Regions from separate parts of the Homo sapiens genome. Here region 2 is linked to region 1. The links are contacts of gene promoters, found by promoter capture Hi-C in blood cells and fetal thymus (Javierre and others, 2016). All regions are on one chromosome and are shown on one strand. Each heading gives the region's core, a stretch centred on a gene start or on the middle of the fragment in contact. The rest is flanking DNA. Distances are from core to core; before and after follow the strand shown. Region 1 holds the start of CLPTM1L (CLPTM1 like). Region 2 holds the start of TERT (telomerase reverse transcriptase).

Region 1 (3,036 bases), core at 383-2,882:
AGAGCTGGCCAGGTGCCTGACAGGAAAATGAGGCATCTGAAGAACACGGAGAGATGGGGGTAGGGTGGTAGGGAGGGAGGGAGATGAAGCCACACCCCAGAGCTCCTGGGTTTGCAGCTCCTTCCCGAGGCCTGGCTAGGTCCCTGCCTCGGTCCCTGCCTCTGGATGCCGTGAGACAATCCACCCTGGAGAGCCTACCAGTCCCCTTATGTTTGACAGCTGGAGTTGGAATTTGCCTCCCGCAGACCACAGGTCTACAGCCTTCATTCACGTGTCGCACAGACTGTGGCAGGACCAGCACCCGCTGCTGGTGTGGGACGCCTGGCCCTGTAGGGGACCCCAAGAGTGGCTGGAGAGCAGGGCGTGATGCCTCTTGGGCCACCCTGCAAAGGGCTCACGAGCCTCCTGAGGAGGATGCATTTGATCAGGGTAACAGGAGTCAGCAGAGGGCTTTCCAAGGACAGGTTTGCCAAGAAGCGAGAACAGACTGAGGGGGGAACGATAGAGGCACTGGGTGTAGTCAGACACCACTGCAATGGTAGCCGAAAACCGCGCCGTGAGAAGACTCTGTGGGGAGGGTAACTAGGTGCATGAGAGTGAGAGGAGCGAAAAAAGCCTCGGATGGCTCCGAAGCTCCTGGCCCAGCTTCCAGGGGTTGGTGGCCCAGGACCGCCCCTGCACGCGGCCTCGGGTGCCTGCTCCAGGCAGACCTGCTTCTCTGGCCCATTCTCGGCACCAATCACTGTCCCATCCGCCCGTCAGCCAAGTCCTCTGAGTTCTTCCCGGAGCCCAGCACCCTGATGCAATTGTCCCTGCTCTGAAAACCCTCAGCAATCTATTGGGTCTTCAGTAGCATCTACTCTTTCTAGAAATGTCGAACAAGGTTTTTCGATTGTGCTGCACGTGTGGCAGACACAGAAACGGAAACGACCTTCCAGAGAACTGGCCAAAGGACGGGAGCTGCTCCAGTAACTGAAGGGCACAGACTGAGCGCTTCTGATGGAGTCGGGGAGGTCGCCGGCCCATCCACCGGCTGCCCGAGGGCCTCCCACTGACCTCCCCCGGCCGCCCTCCGAGGGGCCTCTGCTGACCTCGCCGTGCTGGGCACGCTCGGCTTTAGCGGGAAGCTGGGGGTCAGGTTCAAGGCTGTGAGGAGCCACTTCAGCCCGGGAATCTGAATTTTTTCTTCAAAAGCGCCTGTCCCCACAATGGGTTTGTACTGGGGAAAAAACCCACACACGGGATGAGGTGCCCGGCTTCTGTGAGGGTTCTGAGCACTTCGTTTTTCTTCCCTTTAGATTCTGACAACTGTGGACTAAAAGGGTTGCAGGCCCAGTGCCGGAATTCCAGTATCACCTTCCACCAGGCTCCTCACACGTCGACATGGCCCCCACTTGGTGGTCTGGCAGGCGTCGGCGGTTGGGGACGGCGCCCCGGGGACCCCGCGGCCCTAGCCTTCCCCGGCGCCCCGCGAACGCCCTCCGCGGCCCCAGCAGCTGAGCGCCTGGGTCCCTGAGAGGCACCCCAGGAGGGCGGCGCGGGCGGGTAACGTCACACACGCGCCGCATCCTGGATGCGCGTGCGCGGCAGCGGCCGAGACTCCGTTTCCCAGGGAGCCGCGCGGCGCGTCCACTTCCGGCAGGCGGCGGGGCCCGGAAGCGGCGCGCGGGGCCGGCGAATCCCGCGGCGCCAGGTGGGAGCGGGGCCGGAGCATGCGGGGCGGCCGGCGGTCTGCGGCGCGCGGCGCATTCGTTCCCCCGCGGCGGTGGCGGTGGCGCGCGGCGGCTCTCCAGTGAGCGGCGGAGCCCGGAGCGGCGGGCTGGGCGCCGGGCGGGCGGGGCTCGCGGCTGAGAGGCGGGCGGGCCGGGGGCGCCGGGCGCGGGGCCGCCATGTGGAGCGGCCGCAGCTCCTTCACCAGCTTGGTGGTGGGCGTGTTCGTGGTCTACGTGGTGCACACCTGCTGGGTCATGTACGGCATCGTCTACACCCGCCCGTGCTCCGGCGACGCCAACTGCATCCAGCCCTACCTGGCGCGGCGGCCCAAGCTGCAGGTGAGCGTCCGCGGGGCCGGGGGCCGGGCGGGTTGGGGTGGGGGCCTCTCCTCCAGGCCCCAGACGTCGCCTTCCCGTCCCAGTTCGGAGCTGTGGCCGCGCGAGTCGAGATGGAACCTTTCCTGGTTCCCCAGCGGCCAGGTCTTCCGCCCTCCAGCTGGCCGTGGGATTTGAGTGCGTCCTGCCAGGGCCTGGCCGAGCTGACTCTCGACGCCCCCTCCTTTCCAGCTGAGCGTGTACACCACGACGAGGTCCCACCTGGGTGCTGAGAACAACATCGACCTGGTCTTGAATGTGGAAGACTTTGATGTGGAGTCCAAATTTGAAAGGTATGGGCGTAGGACAAAATGCCAGTGAAAGGGAAAACATTACTCATGTTCAGATTGTTTAAAAGTTAGCTTTCTGTACATAACATGTTTATTTTAGAGAACTAGTCTTACCGAATGTCTTGAAGTGGTAGAATATCCTAACTGGAGGCCTATGCGTGGCCTGTAAACATTCAGCCTGGAAGGTGACAGGTGATGAATGTCGTTTAAGAAGTAGTTCTCAGCAGAGTGTGATGGCAGTGGGATGTCCTGGACGGGGAGGCTCCGAAGGAGCAGGGGCCACGCTTGGTGAACCAGTGGAGAGCAGACAACTCTGCAGTTTCACTACCGGGGACCAACTTGTCTTTTCCTGGTGGAAGTAGTTCGCTTAAGTTACTTGTGAGGGAAAAGAGATGAGGATAGAGGAAGCAATTTTGTAGAAAATCATAAATAAGTGACATGTGACGTTAGAATAGATCAATGTCCAAATATGTAGAGTATCTTAAAAATTACATCTGACATGGCCTAATTTTTTTTAATTGAATAAGTATACTTTTAAATATGATTTGCTTCTCACAAGTCAACCATTTCCCTTCATTGCCTGGGAGGTATCTGAGGAGAGAATAATGAAAGTTTGAGACTCATGCTGGACTCCACGCCCTCTAGGCAGCCAGTCCCTG
Region 2 (2,868 bases), core at 369-2,868, 50 kb after region 1:
TAACTGCACCCATAATACTGGGGTGTCTTCTGGGTATCAGCGATCTTCATTGAATGCCGGGAGGCGTTTCCTCGCCATGCACATGGTGTTAATTACTCCAGCATAATCTTCTGCTTCCATTTCTTCTCTTCCCTCTTTTAAAATTGTGTTTTCTATGTTGGCTTCTCTGCAGAGAACCAGTGTAAGCTACAACTTAACTTTTGTTGGAACAAATTTTCCAAACCGCCCCTTTGCCCTAGTGGCAGAGACAATTCACAAACACAGCCCTTTAAAAAGGCTTAGGGATCACTAAGGGGATTTCTAGAAGAGCGACCTGTAATCCTAAGTATTTACAAGACGAGGCTAACCTCCAGCGAGCGTGACAGCCCAGGGAGGGTGCGAGGCCTGTTCAAATGCTAGCTCCATAAATAAAGCAATTTCCTCCGGCAGTTTCTGAAAGTAGGAAAGGTTACATTTAAGGTTGCGTTTGTTAGCATTTCAGTGTTTGCCGACCTCAGCTACAGCATCCCTGCAAGGCCTCGGGAGACCCAGAAGTTTCTCGCCCCTTAGATCCAAACTTGAGCAACCCGGAGTCTGGATTCCTGGGAAGTCCTCAGCTGTCCTGCGGTTGTGCCGGGGCCCCAGGTCTGGAGGGGACCAGTGGCCGTGTGGCTTCTACTGCTGGGCTGGAAGTCGGGCCTCCTAGCTCTGCAGTCCGAGGCTTGGAGCCAGGTGCCTGGACCCCGAGGTTGCCCTCCACCCTGTGCGGGCGGGATGTGACCAGATGTTGGCCTCATCTGCCAGACAGAGTGCCGGGGCCCAGGGTCAAGGCCGTTGTGGCTGGTGTGAGGCGCCCGGTGCGCGGCCAGCAGGAGCGCCTGGCTCCATTTCCCACCCTTTCTCGACGGGACCGCCCCGGTGGGTGATTAACAGATTTGGGGTGGTTTGCTCATGGTGGGGACCCCTCGCCGCCTGAGAACCTGCAAAGAGAAATGACGGGCCTGTGTCAAGGAGCCCAAGTCGCGGGGAAGTGTTGCAGGGAGGCACTCCGGGAGGTCCCGCGTGCCCGTCCAGGGAGCAATGCGTCCTCGGGTTCGTCCCCAGCCGCGTCTACGCGCCTCCGTCCTCCCCTTCACGTCCGGCATTCGTGGTGCCCGGAGCCCGACGCCCCGCGTCCGGACCTGGAGGCAGCCCTGGGTCTCCGGATCAGGCCAGCGGCCAAAGGGTCGCCGCACGCACCTGTTCCCAGGGCCTCCACATCATGGCCCCTCCCTCGGGTTACCCCACAGCCTAGGCCGATTCGACCTCTCTCCGCTGGGGCCCTCGCTGGCGTCCCTGCACCCTGGGAGCGCGAGCGGCGCGCGGGCGGGGAAGCGCGGCCCAGACCCCCGGGTCCGCCCGGAGCAGCTGCGCTGTCGGGGCCAGGCCGGGCTCCCAGTGGATTCGCGGGCACAGACGCCCAGGACCGCGCTTCCCACGTGGCGGAGGGACTGGGGACCCGGGCACCCGTCCTGCCCCTTCACCTTCCAGCTCCGCCTCCTCCGCGCGGACCCCGCCCCGTCCCGACCCCTCCCGGGTCCCCGGCCCAGCCCCCTCCGGGCCCTCCCAGCCCCTCCCCTTCCTTTCCGCGGCCCCGCCCTCTCCTCGCGGCGCGAGTTTCAGGCAGCGCTGCGTCCTGCTGCGCACGTGGGAAGCCCTGGCCCCGGCCACCCCCGCGATGCCGCGCGCTCCCCGCTGCCGAGCCGTGCGCTCCCTGCTGCGCAGCCACTACCGCGAGGTGCTGCCGCTGGCCACGTTCGTGCGGCGCCTGGGGCCCCAGGGCTGGCGGCTGGTGCAGCGCGGGGACCCGGCGGCTTTCCGCGCGCTGGTGGCCCAGTGCCTGGTGTGCGTGCCCTGGGACGCACGGCCGCCCCCCGCCGCCCCCTCCTTCCGCCAGGTGGGCCTCCCCGGGGTCGGCGTCCGGCTGGGGTTGAGGGCGGCCGGGGGGAACCAGCGACATGCGGAGAGCAGCGCAGGCGACTCAGGGCGCTTCCCCCGCAGGTGTCCTGCCTGAAGGAGCTGGTGGCCCGAGTGCTGCAGAGGCTGTGCGAGCGCGGCGCGAAGAACGTGCTGGCCTTCGGCTTCGCGCTGCTGGACGGGGCCCGCGGGGGCCCCCCCGAGGCCTTCACCACCAGCGTGCGCAGCTACCTGCCCAACACGGTGACCGACGCACTGCGGGGGAGCGGGGCGTGGGGGCTGCTGCTGCGCCGCGTGGGCGACGACGTGCTGGTTCACCTGCTGGCACGCTGCGCGCTCTTTGTGCTGGTGGCTCCCAGCTGCGCCTACCAGGTGTGCGGGCCGCCGCTGTACCAGCTCGGCGCTGCCACTCAGGCCCGGCCCCCGCCACACGCTAGTGGACCCCGAAGGCGTCTGGGATGCGAACGGGCCTGGAACCATAGCGTCAGGGAGGCCGGGGTCCCCCTGGGCCTGCCAGCCCCGGGTGCGAGGAGGCGCGGGGGCAGTGCCAGCCGAAGTCTGCCGTTGCCCAAGAGGCCCAGGCGTGGCGCTGCCCCTGAGCCGGAGCGGACGCCCGTTGGGCAGGGGTCCTGGGCCCACCCGGGCAGGACGCGTGGACCGAGTGACCGTGGTTTCTGTGTGGTGTCACCTGCCAGACCCGCCGAAGAAGCCACCTCTTTGGAGGGTGCGCTCTCTGGCACGCGCCACTCCCACCCATCCGTGGGCCGCCAGCACCACGCGGGCCCCCCATCCACATCGCGGCCACCACGTCCCTGGGACACGCCTTGTCCCCCGGTGTACGCCGAGACCAAGCACTTCCTCTACTCCTCAGGCGACAAGGAGCAGCTGCGGCCCTCCTTCCTACTCAGCTCTCTGAGGCCCAGCCTGACTGGC

Evidence for each region. Contacts are between HindIII fragments. The CHiCAGO score rates a contact against its expected background, and 5 or more counts as called.
Region 2: the fragment with the promoter of TERT here is called in contact with the fragment with the promoter of CLPTM1L in region 1 in 2 of 17 cell types (naive CD4 T cells and erythroblasts); the score reaches 6.1 in naive CD4 T cells.

The regions. Positions count from the first base shown.
Region 1 is chr5:1,343,695-1,346,730 of GRCh38, reverse strand. It overlaps CLPTM1L (CLPTM1 like), which reads left to right and starts at 1,632. Exons shown (of 17, transcript NM_030782.5): 1 at 1,632-2,051; 2 at 2,280-2,380. The coding sequence starts at 1,890. The HindIII fragment of the contact is 23,624 bases long and covers 1-3,036 here.
Region 2 is chr5:1,293,818-1,296,685 of GRCh38, reverse strand. It overlaps TERT (telomerase reverse transcriptase), which reads left to right and starts at 1,618. Exons shown (of 16, transcript NM_198253.3): 1 at 1,618-1,915; 2 at 2,020-2,868. The coding sequence starts at 1,697. RefSeq lists silencers at 1,272-1,361, 1,462-1,531, cis regulatory regions at 1,564-1,572, 1,584-1,592, 1,662-1,694, 1,697-2,053, enhancers at 941-1,657, 1,628-1,670 and promoters at 1,367-2,058, 1-2,058. The HindIII fragment of the contact is 13,041 bases long and covers 1-2,868 here.